Linked DNA regions of Homo sapiens: all the other regions are linked to region 1. Evidence: promoter capture Hi-C in human tissues and cell types (Jung and others, 2019). All regions are on one chromosome and are shown on one strand. The core of a region is centred on a gene start or on the middle of the fragment in contact, and the rest is flanking DNA. Distances in the headings are between cores, read along the strand shown. Region 1 holds the start of MST1R (macrophage stimulating 1 receptor). Region 2 has its middle 4.1 kb from the start of GNAI2. Region 3 holds the start of GNAT1 (G protein subunit alpha transducin 1).

Region 1 (5,126 bases), core at 1,125-3,624:
AAAAGTCTGGGATGGACCAATTCCAACCAGCCCTTCCTAGGCCTTTACTTATCCCCAGATGTTTATAGTTGCTTGCACAAGACTAGAGTGAGGCTCCCAGAACCTTCTAGAACCAAGCTGCCATTCCATGAGTTCTGGGTACTCCCCCAATCACCCCCAATCATGGCAAAAACGTTAGTGAAGCCCAGGACATGCAGGCTCCCTAACAAGCTCCCAACTTCCAAGGCCCAGGAGGCTCCCTGGAACGTGGTGGCTGGCAGAAGGATGGGGGTGGGTGGGGGGAGGGGGTGTGGAGGAAGGGGAGATTCTCTGACAACTCCCGTCCCACCCCCTTTGGAAAGCAGAGCAAAACAAGGGAAAGTGAAACTGTTGGCAAGCAGCTGTGAGTCTGTGAATCTGTGAGCATCTCCCTGTGTATTTGTGCGTGGTGGTGGTGGTGGTGGCGGGGGTGGGGGAGGGGAGGGGGGAGTGCTATTTTTCTGCGTGTGTCCCTGAGGATATGGGTGGTGGACAAGTAGGAGGGAATGCCCATCATTCTACCCAGCATTCAGGAGCTATGCTAACAGAGACACGGTTATGTAACCCTATCCTCACATAGCCAGGGAAACTACCTAAAAAACCAGAGGCCATGATGGGCAGGTAGGGGAAAGAGCAAGATGAGGCAGCCACAAGGGCCAGCCTGGGAGCTAAGCCTCCAGTGTAGCCTTTGTCTGGCTGGTTTCTCACACCACCCCAGCACTTAGGAACTGGGTGAGAGAGAATGCTTCTTTCCGCCTGCCCCCCCACCGCGCCCCCAGATCCCCTCAGTGATGGAAGGGAAGCAGCCTGTGTTCAGCCATGTGCATGCAGCTCACAAGTAAGGGCCCCTTCTTTCAGCTTACCGGGTTGGGGCAAAAACTGGGCGACTGGAAGAAGTCGAGGCCTCGCCGGAGGCCTGGATGGACTGGGGATTCACAACAGCGCTCCACACCCTCATCAATTAGTGTGTCCAGCAGGTCAATGGGGAAGGCACAGACGACAGAGTTGGGGCCCACGCCAGGACCACCATCCTTGCCAGTCACAAAGACCCCAAATAGTACTTCCTGGCCCTCGGCGATGCTCAGCTCAGTGGCAAGTTGGGCACCCACTGGAGCGGAGTGGGCCACCCGCAGCACAGGGTAGGGCTGTCCGCCTTCTGGGGCCCCCCGGCGCCTGCGTTTTGGAGCAAATCTGCAGTCGAGGACCAGCTCCCGATAGTCACCCAACTCTGGCTCAGTGGCGCTAAGCCGTGCCAGGCGTGTGTGCAGGGCACTAGGATCATCTGTCACGCTGGCCGGCTGTACAGTCAGGAAGTATACGAAGGCTCCCGTGTGGAAGCTGTGCACGTATTCAATACTGTAGGAGACAAGATGCTTGGGCAGCACTGACAACGCCACAAAGCCCGGTGCGAATCCCGAGGCGTCAGCCTTGAGACGCCTGATAGACACTGAGCGTGGGCTGAAGCTGGCAGCCACGGCTGCGTCCAGTGAGGATGCCACGTAGAAATAGGAGGCCTGGCCTTGCTCAACCACAGTTACACGGGTGCCCAATGGGCTGGCCACACAGTCGGGGCAGTCATCGGGCCGGTTATGGTGGGCTGAGAAGAGGCAGGCTGGCGCTGCCAGATGCACGGCTGTCCCTTGGGGCTCTAGGTCATGCAGGAAGCAGCGGCCCTGCAGGCTGGAGCCACAACTGACCAGCGCAGGCAGCGCGGGATCCAGCACCAGCACCTTTGTGTCTGTGTCACCGGGAGGGCCGTGGGGTCCTGGGCCACAGGCTGCACACGTCTGGCAGCCAGGGTCTCCAGCAGGGCCCGTGGCCAGGCTCTGGACAGACTTCAGGTCAGGCCCAAGCACATGCAGGCGATTGCGTATGGCTACAAACACAGCACTCTCATTTCTGTCGCCCTCGTAGGTCACCATGGCCTGTACCAGGCCTCCGGCGGAGAAGCTGGGCACCACGTACTTCACGTCAAAGTCGCGAGAGGCCGCGTAGGGGGTGCGCGGGCACTGCCAGTCCTCGCCCGCCGCGGGCTTGGCAGGCAACAGCAGCAGCAACAGGAAGGACTGAGGCAGCGGCGGGAGGAGCTCCATCGAGGCGAGCTGGGACCCTAGAGGATCCCTACCGGCCTGGGCCTGGACCTGGGCGTGGGCCTGGCTGGGGGCCCGACTCGAGGTCTGGACTGGGCCAAATTTAAGCAGCGGTCCCGACAGCCCCAAGATAGCGGACCCCCGCCCCAGGTTCCTGTGAAACCCAAATCCCTTCCCGGCCCTCGGGTCTGAGCACCTGACGCCTGCGGACGCACGACAGCAACGCCCCAGCCGCCTCACCTGCCGCCCCAGCCGCCGCTGTACACTGGCGCTTAGCGCTCAGCCGACCCGAGGGCGCCGGGCTGGGCGGGCGGAGTCGGGCCGTGGGGGCGGGGCCGCGAGGAAGGCTTGGCCTAGCCCAGGCCCTCCGCCCATCCGACTCTTCCGGCCCTTGGAGGCCTGGCTCCTGTACCTTCACCTGGCGTCTTGGCGCCTTTTTCTCAGCGGCCTGTGGGTGGATGTGCATGGTGTGGCCTGGAGAGAGGTGAGCCAGTCTGAGCCGTCCCATCCCATCCCCCCACTACCGACTGGTTCGCAGCGAGAAGGGGGGCAGGACACTGGGCTCTTTGCTTGCGGTGGAACTAGTTTGCACTTAGTAGCAACACCCTCAGTGGCTGGTGCCCAGAGGTGGCCTGGGGGCCCACCATGTGGAGAACAGAGACCAGGATTGTGTGGAAGACCAGAGGGGAGATGTGGGGCACTTACAAGAGATGTTATGGGGCGCCACCCTTTGTGGGAAAGGACTGTCCTTTTTTTTTTTTGAGAAGGAGTCTTGCTCTGTGGCCCAAGCTGGATTGCAGTGGCGCGATCTCGGCTCACTGCAAACTCCGCCTCCCAGGTTCAAGCGATTCTCCAGCCTCAACCTCCTCCTGTCTCAACCTCCTGAATAGCTGGGATTACAGGCGCGCACCACCACACCCGGCTAATTTTGTATTTTTAGTAGAGACAGGATTCACAGTGTTGGCCAGGCTGGTCTCAAACTCCTGACCTCAGGTGATCCGCCCGCCTCAGCCTCCCAAACTGTTGGGATTACAGGCGTAAGCCACCGCGCCCGGCCGGGACCATTCTTCCATGTGCTTCTCCTGAGCTATCAGCGACAAGATGGTGTCAGAGGAAGGTGTGTTATGCCCTGCTCTCCCAGGGCCATAAGGGTCTTAGGATGGGATCTGGCCTTGCTGACTGGACCTCAGAGTCAGAGAGGCACGTAAGTGGAGGCCCATACCTCCTCTGCAGCCTCAGTATATGGAAGCTGTATAATGGGGTCCACAGTATGGGCCTTGGGGACTCCCCCTTCCTTCCTGGCTCTACCCAGTGCCCCCCTGATATGGAGGAATCATGGGCTTTGGCTCTCAGGACACTTCCAACATGCTCTGTAGGCCTTGCTGGATCTTATTCTCTTCAATGAGAATGTAGTTCTGGGCTGGGCACCGTGGCTCATGCCTGTAATCCTAGCACTCCTTTGAGGGGCCAAGGCAGGAGGATTGCTTGAGGTTAGGAGTTCAAGACCAGCCTGGGCAACATAACAAAACTCAACAAAACAAAAAAACTGCTAAAAATGTTTTTAAAATAAAATATGTGACCGGGCGTGGTGGCTCACGCCTGTAATCCCAGCACTTTGGGAGGCCGAGGCGGGTGGATCGCTTGAGGTCAGGAGTTCAAGACCAACATGGTGAACAGACAGATCTGGCCAACATGGTGAAACTATCTCCACTAAAAACAAAAATTAGCCGGGCGTGGTGGTGGGTGCCTGTAATCCCAGCTACTAGGGAGGCTGAGGCAGGAGAATAGCTTGAATTTAGGGGGTGGAGGTTGCAGTGAGCTGAGATTGTGCCACTGCACTCCAGCCTGGGTGACAGAGCGAGACTCCATCTCCAAAAAAAGAAAAAGAAAACGTAGTTCCGACTAGGTGATTTCCCAGAGTTCTCTCTTCTGTTTATGAGGAGTGGGGGTGGGGGAGCCTAGTCCCACACTTGGATCTCAGCAGCTGCCCCTTGGTAACTGGTCCCCCAACACTAGACTGAGGCCCCTGGGGGACAACCTTAGCCTGACAGACCCCTCAGTTAGATAGGCCTGGACCCTAGAAGACAGGGAAGGTCCACAGGGTGGGTCTGGGCTGTGAACTATGGGCCCCAAGGCTGTAGATAAGGAGGCTGGGGGAGAGAGGAGCCCTCAGCCCAACAGGATTTAGCCTGGCTTGGGGAGCTATATCTCCTCACTCCCCTTTCAGTTCATACTTCTGTGCCTGCATCCCCTTCCTAACCTGACCTTTGTAAGTGCTGTTCCTCCTTCCAGGAGCACTCTTTCCCTTTTCTCCTTTTGCCACCTAAATGGCACCTCCTCCAGGAAGCCTTTTTGATCCAGACTTTGCCAGTCCCCTCTCCTGGGTCTCACAGACCCAGTGCTACACTCACCCCAGCACAGTTTACTCTGGATACTTCACTTCCTCCATCCCCAGTGCAGGACTCCCCCTCCTTCCAGCCTGGAGCTCCATGAGCACCTGAAGACTGAAAGAGGAAATGGAAGTGGGGGCGGCCACACCCAGTGCAGGGTTGATACTGTGCCCTGAGGTGACATAAAAGACACTCCTTTTCCAAAGCAGAATTGGCCAGGAAATGAATAAACACCCGGAGAAAACCGTGGCGTGGTTCCTGCATTCCACAGTCAACACATCTAAAGATAGGCAAGGCAAAACTAAAATGAAACATTCTCAGCCTGGCGCACAGACAGGGGTTCTGGTGACCCAAATCCCACCTCCAGACTTTCAGAGGGATCTCTGGTGGTTGGGAGAAGACTTCACAAGCCCTCTTAGATCACCCCACCCACCCCTTTTTGGGGGTGGTGTTGCGGCAACCATCCGTTAGTTCTCCGCTGCCACCGTGTGGCCGCGCTAATGGCTGTCCCCAGGCTGAGGTCCCCTGTAAGGCAGCCTTGGTTCTCAACAGCAGGGGTACACAGGAGCACCCCTTCCCCCTCTCGCCATCTGCCGCCTCTATAGGAGGGGGCAGTCAAGGTGTGTGG
Region 2 (5,126 bases), core at 1,854-4,353, 330 kb after region 1:
TCCTCCATGATGCCTCATGGCAGTCCCCTCTCACACCAGTCTTCTCTTGCTCTCGCTATTCTGGCCCGGCTGGACTCCTCTCTGGTTTGGGAGCATCCAGCTCCTTCCCAACCCAGGGCCCTTGCACTTGCTGCTGCCTCTGTCGTCACTCTCTTCTGGCTTGTTACAAGACTGGTCCTTCCACATGATTCAAAGATCCCCTCCTCAGACTATCTTCTCCTGCACATACCTCCCAGTGGCTCTAGTGTCACCCTGTTGATTTCCTCTGAAATGGTGAAGTTCATTTCCCTGTTTGTTTGGTGTGTGTTCCTCAAGGACAGGGCCCAGCTGCCTCTTTTACCATAGGGTTCTCAGCACATTGGCAGGCAATATGTTCAGGGAACAGTGGTTGAACAGATGACCCCTTCCTCTGGATCCTCCCGCACTGCCCCCCAGCCGCCACCCCTGTGTCAGGTTGGGCCCCCTTGCCTAATCCAGAAGCTTATGGGGAAGGGGTGCTGGGGCCTGAATTCTCCAGGTCAAAGCCAATGATCTGTGAAGAGGGTGGATGACCAGAAAGGGGGACTTTGGGATCCAGGACCCCCAGGCTTTTGAGTTTTCCTCCTGGACGAAGAGAGGCCTGGGAAGAGGGGTCTGCAAGGGAGCAGGGAGGGAGGGCAGGATGGCTGACTCCAGTTTCAGAACTTCCACTGGGCTAAGAAGCAGGAAGGGGAAAGCGCAGGAGTTGAACCAGGAAGTAGAACCTGCCCCAGGGCAGTAAGGCGGGAGCAAGCTGTAGCCACGAGGTCTACAAGCAGTAGCTGCAAGGCTGTGATTGAGTTGGTCACAGGTCCTTGGCCAGGGACTCCCTGTCATCTGGGAGCCGTGGAGGTAGGGTGGTCAGGATCCTGAACTCTGGGCATCCCTGTGGGGTCCTACCTAGTCCTGGACTCTGGGCAGGGACAGGCACACCCACCCCGAAACTGCCTTTGGGGAAGTGCTAGCAGCTTCCCCTTCCTAGAGCCTGCAGGCAAGCATGTCACAGCCCACTGAGAGGGTCTTCATTCCTCAACCTGCTCAGGGCTACTGCTCGATAGGAACTCAGGCCAAGCTGGACCTGCTGTGCTGCCTGTGGTGAGCCCCAAGACTATTCTGGCAGTAGGGGTGAACCAGCAGCTGCCACTTCTCCATTCCAGCTGAGGGGCCACCCTCAACTCTGCTGATGTCATTCCATTGTCCTTTATGGTCTAGTCCAAGCGGTGCTGGGCCTGGTGGGCATGGGGTCAAGTCATGCCTCCTCTGGTGCTCGTGAGGCCCTGGCTAGGCAGCTGCCCTCTGCCCCCAAAATGAACTCTCCTGAAAGGACTCCTGGATTCCTGAGTATGAAGAAACTGAGATGCCCACGATGTACCTCACTGATGACTGTGACTGGCTCCTGGCCCACTCTGGACCTCAGCTGACTCAGCTGCAAAGCAAGGGGTTTGTTTCTTCAGCTCTCAGCCTTAATTTTCTCGCTAGCCCTTCCCCAGACCCCTGCCTCTCAGACCTACCACCCTACCTTTGCATGTACTCTTCCATCTTCTTGCAATATTCTTCCGCACTGTTCTTCTCCCTCTAGCACTCCCTGCATCACCTCCTCAAAGAAAGCTTCCTGACCTTCCCAGGCACTATTGGTTTCTCTTTTCTCTGCGTATACAACTACATGAATATTTCCAGAGGGGCAGCAGCTCCCAGCTCCAGGATGAAGAGATTGATTGATGGATTGATTGATTGATTTTGAGACAGAGTCTACCTCTGTTGCCGGGCTGGAGGGCAATGGTGCGATCTCAGCTCACTGCAACCTCTGCCTCTTGGGTTCAAGCGATTGTCCTGCCTCAGCCTCGCAAGTAGCCGGGATTACAGGCATGCGCTGCCACGCCCAGCTAATTTTTGTATTTTTAGTAGAGATGGGGTTTCACCATGTTGGCCAGGATAGTCGATCTCTTGACCTCATGATCTGCCCACCTCAGCCTTCCAAAGTGCTGGGATTACAGGCTCGAGCCACCGCACCCGGCCTTATTCATTTAAGTTGATACATATTTACCTGCCACCCTGCAAGGGGCCTGGAATTAGGGATATGAGTGGGAGAGACCCACGACCAGAATAGTGGGATCTGGCTGGGGAAGGGGAAGCCCGAGGACAATGGGACTCAGAGAAGCCCAGCTCACAGCCAGGGAATGAAAGGTGGGGAGGAGGGATTAATTTAACAGGGTAGGGGGATGGGAGGGAAGATCGAGGGATGGAGAGAGCAAGGCAAGCCAGATGGTTGGAGTGCCAGTGTGTTGCAAGTGGAGGGACATGAGGTGGACCCTTGAGTGGGGACAATCATAAAGCCTTACAGAAATCGCTACTATTGGGCCAGGCACAGTGGTTCATGCCTGTAATCCCAGCACTTTGGGAGGCCAAGACGGGAGGATTGCCTGAGCCCAGGAGTTTGAGACCAGCCTGGACAACATGGTGAGACTTCATCTCTATTAAAAAAAAAAAAAGGGCCGTGCACGGTGGCTCACACCTGCAATCCAGCACTTTGGGAGGCCGAGGCAGGCAGATCATCTGAGGTCAGGAGTTTGAGACCAGCCTGGCCAACATGGCAAAACCCCATCTCTACTAAAAATACAAAAATTAGCCGGGTGTGGTGGCAGGCGCCTGTAATCCCAGCTACTTGGGGAGCTGAGGCACAAGAATCACTTGAACCCAGGAGGCGGAGGTTGCAGTGAGCCAAGATCATGCCACTGCGCTCCAGCTTGGGTGATAGAGTCAGACTCAGTCTCAAAAAAAAAGAAATCACTACTATAACACCTCACCCTTATTGAGGGCTTTCTATGTGCCATGCACATTCTGCATGTTTTACATGTTTCCTCCTGGAGTCCTGACCTCTGCCTGTGCTTTGGGTATGTATAACCGTTAGGCCCATTTTACTGATAAGAAAACCGAGGTACAGGGAGTTTCTGGTACTTGTCCAAAGTAACAAGTAGCTGGCAAGTTTGCAAACTGCTCCTCAGAGTCTTTGCTTCCAACTGCCAGCCTACAGCCTCCAACTGCTGCAGAGTCCAAACCAGTGTGTGTGGGGGCTTCATCTATTCTCAGGGCATTGGGGAACCACAGAAAGTTTCCGAGCAAGGGGGTGATGTGATTTCTTTCAGTAGGATGCCCTTGGCTGCCATGTGGAGGATAAATTGTAGGGAAACAGGAGAGCCAAGGAAGACGTTAGAATCCTAGGCTGGGAGATAGTGGGGACAGAGAACAAATACAGATTGGAGGGGAAATTGAGGTAGGGAAGAGGCTGATGGCATATAGGGGTAGGGGAGGGGGTCATTGCTGTGGCTGGTGGGGGGATCATGAAGTGGTGGAGAGCCTGGGAACAGGGGCCAGTGGGATGGGATGTACCCAGTTCTGGACAGTGTGGATTTGAGGTGCCTGGGTGTCTCGGGGAGGCTTCAGAGCAGTGGTGGACATGGGGCTGGCAATCAAAGAAGTCAGGCTGGAGAGGACCTTGTGGGGTTCTGAGCCCCCAGAGTGGGAGGTGTATGAGTGGAGTGGCAAGCAGAGGCCTGGCCATAGCCCTGGGGACCCCATGGAGATGGAGAAGGAGCAGCTAGCAGGGTGGAAGCAAGGGTTGCTGGACTCCCTGGGAAGAGCATAGGACTGGAAAGGAGCAGCTGACTGGCGGGAAGGGTGCCATAACCACAGGACCTGGCCTGGGGCTGGGGAAGGCCATGCCTTCCAGTAGCCCCATCTTGCCCTGCCTCCATAGATTGGGGTCTGTGTTGCGCCCACCTACTGAGAGCTGGGCCTCCAAGGGGCTGACAGGTTCTCCCTGTTGCCTGGCAACTGTGAGAGCTGTTGGCTGTTGCTAGGAGCAGGCTAGAGAGGCCAGAGGAGCGAGGATCAGCTCTCAAGCCTGGGGCAGGGTGACAGGTAGAGGGAAGGGGAGGGTCCCACCTTGGAAGCCAGTTTGTAGTCTGTGCGTGGACAGATTGTATTCTTGGCCATGTGTACCCATTTTTGTAGAGTGTGTTCTGTGGATCTGAGGCATGTTGGAGACTGACCTATGTGTGGGTGTCTACAGCATATCTGTGGCCCTGGTGGACATTATGTGTCCTCAACATGTTGCATGCCCATGGCAGGGCCTGCTTGAGCTTCAGAGCAGTGGTGGACATGGGACATCATATCCTATGTCTCAGGACAGGAGGGGGGCCTGAGGGAGTCATTGGAGGACTTCCAGGCCAATGACCCCTCAACAAGAGAGACATTCAGATAGGGATATGCAGACACTCCAGGGAGAACAGCCAGCCTGGGGATTGGGAGCTGGAACAAAATGTGTAACAAGGTTCTTTTTTTTTTTTTTTTTTTTTGAGACGGAGTCCTGCTCTGTTGCCCAGGGTAGAGTGCAGTGGTGTGATCTCAGCTCACTGCAATCTCCAGTTCCCAGGTTCAAGTGATTCTCCTGTTTCAGCCTCCTGAGTAACCAGGATTACAGGCACGTGCCACCACGCCCAGCTGATTTTTTTTTTTTTTTTTTTTTTGAGACGGAGTCTTGCTCTGTCACCCAGGGTGGAGTGCAGAGACAGAATCTCAGCTCACTGCAAGCTCCGCCTCCTGGGTTCACACCATTCTCCTGCCTCAGCCTCCTGAGTAGCTGGTACTACAGGCGCCCGCCACCACGCCGGCTAATTTTTTGTATTTTTAGTACAAAATACACCGTGTTAGCCAGGATGGTCTCCATCTCCTGACCTCGTGATCTGCCGCCTCGGCCTCCCAGTACTGGGATTACAGGCGTGAGCCACCGTGCCCGGTCTTTTTTTTTTTTTTTGAAATGGAGTTTCACTCTTGCCCAGGCTAGAGTGCAATGGCATGATCTCAGCTCACTGCAACCTCCGCCTCCTGGGTTCAAGTGATTCTCCTGCCTCAGTCTCCCAAGTAGCTGGGATTACATGTGCCCACCACCACACCCCGCTAATTTTTTGTATTTTAGTAGAGACAGGGTTTCTCCATGTTGGTCAGGCTGGTCTCGAACTCCTGACCTCAAGAGATCTGCCTGCTTCAGCCTCCCAGAGTTGCTGGGATTATAGGCATGAGCAACCATGCCCAGCCAAAATGTGTACCAA
Region 3 (5,126 bases), core at 712-3,211, 290 kb after region 1:
GCTCAACCTGAACAATTTCTGCCCGGCAGTGAGCCCTGCACCTGAACAGAGCACCAGACCCCCTAAGCTGAGGCAGGCAGGCCCTGGAGATAATCTTAGGCAGGCCTCAGAGCACCCACAGCAGACAGAGCAGGAGCAGGATAGGTGAGCCCCATTCCTCCATACCCCAGGGAACACTACACCTGCTCTGGGATGCAATTTCTCCACCTGGCAACAGGCCTGCAAAACATTCTCTGGAAGAGCCTGGCCACTTCTGCAGATTAGAGACTTTGTTGCACCCAAATTCAAGTGTACATATAGGCACAGGCGCCTGCAAGCATGCATGCACACACACAGTCATACACAGGCAGAGATGGACATGCACAGGCACACATATGCTCAGGTACAAACAGGCATGTTTACACCCCTGCGTATAAGCAAGTGCACACATGCAAACCTACACAAACTGCAAAACACACAAGCCTATGTGTGCATGAAGAGAATACACAAAGCATATTCACACATGCATACACATGTGTATACATGTGCACACATACATAAGCATGCGCACAGGCACGTGATTCCTATAAGAGCACATGCACTCACAAAGGCATAAACATGCAGGCACACATGTACACACAGGTATTCATGCACAAATGTGTCAAGTTATTGCTCGCTTGGTGCCAGCAAAAGACACACCCATGGCCGGGCGAGGTGGCTCACACCTGAATCCCAGCACTTTGGGAGGCCGAGGTGGGTGGATCACAAGGTCAGGAGATCGAGACCATCCTGACCAACATGGTGAAACCCCGTCTCTACTAAAAATACACAAAAAATTAGCTGGGTATGGTGGCACATGCCCGTAATCCCAGCTACTTGGGAGGCTGAGGTGGGAGAAGCTTAAACCAGGGAGTTGAAGGTTGCAGTGAGCCAAGATCGTGTCACAGCACTCAAGCCTGGCAACAGAGTGAAACTCTGTCTCAAAAAAAAAAAAAAAAAAAAAAAAAAAAGGCCAGGCACGGTGGCTCATGCCTGTAATCCCAGCACTTTGGGAGGCCGAGGCGGGCAGATCACGAGGTCAGGAGACTGAGACCATCCTGGCTAACACGGTGAAACCCTGTCTTTACTAAAATACAAAAAAAGTAGCCCGACGTAGTGGCGGGCACCTGTTGTCCCAGCTACTCAGGAGGCTGAGGCAGGAGAATGGCGTGAACCTGGGAGGTGGAGCTTGCAGTGAGCTGAGATTGCGCCACTGCACTCCAGCCTGAGCAACAGAGCGAGACTCCATCTCAGAAAAAAAAAAAAAAAAGACACATACACCGAGGCACACAGAGCAGATATGCATGCCCACCACAGTCCGCTGGAAGCAGAGGACCTCCTTGGGGCAGCTCCAGCCTGTGATATGGGATGAATGCAATGCCCACTGTTTCCCTCTCTCTGGATTCCCTGCAGGTCATAAAATCCCAGTCCAGAGTCACCAGCCCTTCTTAACCACTTCCTACTGTGTGACCCTTTCAGCCTTTACTTCCTCATCAGTAAAATGAGGCTGATGATATGGGCATCCATACTCCAGGGCCAGTGTGAGCTTACAACAAGATAAGGAGTGGTGCTGAGCCTGGTGCCGGGCAGGCAGCAGGCATGTTTCTCCCAATTATGCCCTCTCACTGCCAGCCCCACCTCCATTGTCCTCACCCCCAGGGCTCAAGGTTCTGCCTTCCCCTTTCTCAGCCCTGACCCTACTGAACATGTCTCCCCACTCCCAGGCAGTGCCAGGGCCTCTCCTGGAGGGTTGCGGGGACAGAAGGACAGCCGGAGTGCAGAGTCAGCGGTTGAGGGATTGGGGCTATGCCAGCCCGATTAGAAGGGTTGGGGGGGCTGAGCTGGATTCACCTGTCCTTGTCTCTGATTGGCTCTTGGACACCCCTAGCCCCCAAATCCCACTAAGCAGCCCCACCAGGGATTGCACAGGTCCGTAGAGAGCCAGTTGATTGCAGGTCCTCCTGGGGCCAGAAGGGTGCCTGGGAGGCCAGGTTCTGGGGATCCCCTCCATCCAGAAGAACCACCTGCTCACTCTGTCCCTTCGCCTGCTGCTGGGACCATGGGGGCTGGGGCCAGTGCTGAGGAGAAGCACTCCAGGGAGCTGGAAAAGAAGCTGAAAGAGGACGCTGAGAAGGATGCTCGAACCGTGAAGCTGCTGCTTCTGGGTAGGGGTGTGGGCCCAGGTGGGGCCACTGCCACCAGGTCATTGGTCTGGAGGCAGGCAGGCAGCCCTTCTGTGAAGCAAGGATTCCCTGGGAAGCAGTATGAGCCTGTGACAGAGTAGGGCACAGGGTGGGAGCCCTGGCCAAGCAAGGCCAGGCCTGACAGGTGGTGTCCTAGTCCCCCAGGGCTGGACATCCCACAAAGCCCCTCTCCAGACGGCTCTGCCTCAGGTGACCCACCCTCCCCAGAAGTGCGTGCCAACCACACTCTTGCACGGGTGTGTGATGCCGACTTTTCCGTGGCTGGGTTCCCGCAAGCTTCATGCAGCCTTTGGTTTGATACGCCTGCTAGGCAATGCTCAGAAGCCAGGAGCCTCACTGGGAGCCCGTTATTGGGCTGCTACTTTGGGAAGGGGATGGCCATAGTCCTCCTGGGAGTGGGGAGCCTCTAGGACCACCCAGATCCACAACGAATGGCCCTCAGGTGCCAGAGGGCTGTGGCTGATAGACCTACAAAGCAGCCAGAGGGGCTGGCGGGTACTGAGGCCCAGTGGGAGTAGATAAAGCCGCGTCCACTGGACCATGGGCACTGAGGAGAGATGGGGCTGATCCAGGCCTGCCTCAAGGTCACTGCCTGACCTCTCAAGGGGAAAAAGCAGCTTCAAGAGGGGCTCCACCCAAGCTCCCCAGGGTCTGGTCAACCAGCTGGAGGTGGGTGAGGGACCAAGCCAGTCCCACTTTCCCCCAAGGCAGAGAGGCTAAGCCGGAAATCTCATTAACTGTGCCCAACGCCCTCGCAGGGGCAAGCTCAGAAAGGATGTCAACTCTGCCCTCCCTCCTACCCAAAAGAGCTAATTCCCTCTGAGCCTCCTGGAGACACCTGCACCCCTTCAGGTGAAATGCAAGGGGTTTACCCGCCTCAAATAACCCAGTGCTTGCGGTACCAGAGGCTCCCACGAGGTGGCGATGACGCTCCGGGATTTCTTCATTGCAGTCTCACAGCATAATAAAGGCTGCCTGTGCCGGGGTCTTGGGGACTCCCCTGTCCCAGAACAGTTGAGGTCGTTGAGTCCCCTCGTTGGCTTCCTTTCTTCACTTTCCTGGCATTTGCAAACCTTGTGACTTCAGGATGTCAGGACTTAATTTGGATGGGGGGGTAGGTGTGGCTACGGGGTCGGGGCTGGCGCTCAGGCCTCTTCGCTGCGGGTCCACCCTGCCAACTCGGGAGGTCCCCGTCCTCCTGGCCTCCTTGCTGGAGGGGGCAGGCTGGTCAGCGCAGCTCTGAGGCGCCGCGTCTCTTTCAGGTGCCGGTGAGTCCGGGAAGAGCACCATCGTCAAGCAGATGAAGTGAGTGCCCCTGCCTGTCCCGAGGCCCCTGGGTCTGGGTCCTTCCCCACTTCCCCACGAGGCGCTGATTCTGCTCTCCTCGGCCTCAGGATTATCCACCAGGACGGGTACTCGCTGGAAGAGTGCCTCGAGTTTATCGCCATCATCTACGGCAACACGTTGCAGTCCATCCTGGCCATCGTACGCGCCATGACCACACTCAACATCCAGTACGGAGACTCTGCACGCCAGGTGTGCCAGGAGGCGGGCTGAGCGGGCCTCTGGGGACTCGAGGCTCGCGGCTGGGCCCGAGTCCCTGGCCGCCACCAGCCACTCTCACCCTGCCCCCAGGACGACGCCCGGAAGCTGATGCACATGGCAGACACTATCGAGGAGGGCACGATGCCCAAGGAGATGTCGGACATCATCCAGCGGCTGTGGAAGGACTCCGGTATCCAGGCCTGTTTTGAGCGCGCCTCGGAGTACCAGCTCAACGACTCGGCGGGCTAGTGAGCGCGCGGGCAGCGCGGGGCGCGGGGCGCGGGGCGCAGGGGGCCCTCCACGCCTCCCCACCCACCTACGGCCGGGTCTCGCGCAGCTACCTCTCCGACCTGGAGCGCCTGGTAACCCCGGGCTACGTGCCCACCGAGCAGGACGTGCTGCGCTCGCGAGTCAAGACCACTGGCATCATCGAGACGCAGTTCTCCTTCAAGGATCTCAACTTCCGGTACGACCCATACGCTAGCCCAGGAGGTCACTGCCCCAGGCCCCGTCCTGCCCCGGGGACCCCATCCCTGCGATAGACCCTGCCCCTTCCCTGATACCCCGCCAGCAGAAAGGGTGGTAGTCCCGGCCGAGAGCTCCCCGACCAGCACAGGGCGAAGGGATGTTGCCTGTGGGGCCCGGGGCGCAGGTTCAGGCCCCCGCGGCCCCGCAGGATGTTCGATGTGGGCGGGCAGCGCTCGGAGCGCAAGAAGTGGATCCACTGCTTCGAGGGCGTGACCTGCATCATCTTCATCGCGGCGCTGAGCGCCTACGACATGGTGCTAGTGGAGGACGACGAAGTGGTGCGTGCCAGGCAGGGCCTGTGTTCCAGGGGGGCGAGGAGGAGCTGCTGGTCCCTGGAGGCGGAGACCGCGCGCTGGGCTGGGGGAGGGCACGGGAGGGGATGCCTGTCCCGGGCGGCCTGAGGAGGCCCGGAGGCGTTCAGCAGGCCCATCTGGGGCAGTGCGGGGAGCCCTCTGAGAGCCAGCTGAGCGGGAAGCCCCGCGTGCCCGGGAGCCCAGAGAGCAGGTGCTGCGGGTCGGACGCTACCCCGGGTGCCCAACAGCTGCTGCCCTCCTCAGAACCGCATGCACGAGAGCCTGCACCTGTTCAACAGCATCTGCAACCACCGCTACTTCGCCACGACGTCCATCGTGCTCTTCCTTAACAAGAAGGACGTCTTCTTCGAGAAGATCAAGAAGGCGCACCTCAGCATCTGTTTCCCGGACTACGATGGTGAGAAGTCCGCAAGGCCGCCAGGCGGCGCCCCCGCCCCACGATCGCGGCGCGCACCCCCCGCACGGGGAAGGAAGGGCTGAGCAGAGTGAGAGCTCCCGCCCCCGCAGGACCCAACAC

Evidence for each region. The method cuts DNA at HindIII sites, captures the fragments that hold promoters and counts their contacts. A contact is called where the count stands out against the background at its distance.
Region 2: a contact is called between a fragment that was not itself captured here and the fragment with the promoter of MST1R in region 1, in 1 of the 25 tissues and cell types used here (dorsolateral prefrontal cortex).
Region 3: a contact is called between the fragment with the promoter of GNAT1 here and the fragment with the promoter of MST1R in region 1, in 1 of the 25 tissues and cell types used here (adrenal gland).

The regions. Positions count from the first base shown.
Region 1 is chr3:49,901,499-49,906,624 of GRCh38, forward strand. MST1R (macrophage stimulating 1 receptor) reads right to left here and starts at 2,375. Exons shown (of 20, transcript NM_002447.4): 1 at 882-2,375. The coding sequence starts at 2,111. RefSeq lists enhancers at 726-1,399, 1,400-2,073, 2,710-2,759, 2,748-3,420, 4,395-4,554 and 1 more and a silencer at 2,300-2,519. The HindIII fragment of the contact is 20,801 bases long and covers 1-5,126 here.
Region 2 is chr3:50,229,541-50,234,666 of GRCh38, forward strand. It overlaps a transcript of GNAI2 not described here. Among named protein-coding and RNA genes, the nearest start is that of GNAI2, 4.1 kb to the right of the region's middle. RefSeq lists an enhancer at 1,017-1,246. The HindIII fragment of the contact is 6,486 bases long and covers 1-5,126 here.
Region 3 is chr3:50,189,649-50,194,774 of GRCh38, forward strand. GNAT1 (G protein subunit alpha transducin 1) reads left to right here and starts at 1,962. Exons shown (of 9, transcript NM_144499.3): 1 at 1,962-2,183; 2 at 3,485-3,527; 3 at 3,617-3,758; 4 at 3,858-4,015; 5 at 4,105-4,233; 6 at 4,444-4,573; 7 at 4,853-5,006; 8 at 5,117-5,126. The coding sequence starts at 2,078. RefSeq lists enhancers at 3,718-4,234, 4,235-4,751, 4,704-4,763, 4,752-5,126 and a silencer at 5,074-5,126. The HindIII fragment of the contact is 7,512 bases long and covers 1-5,126 here.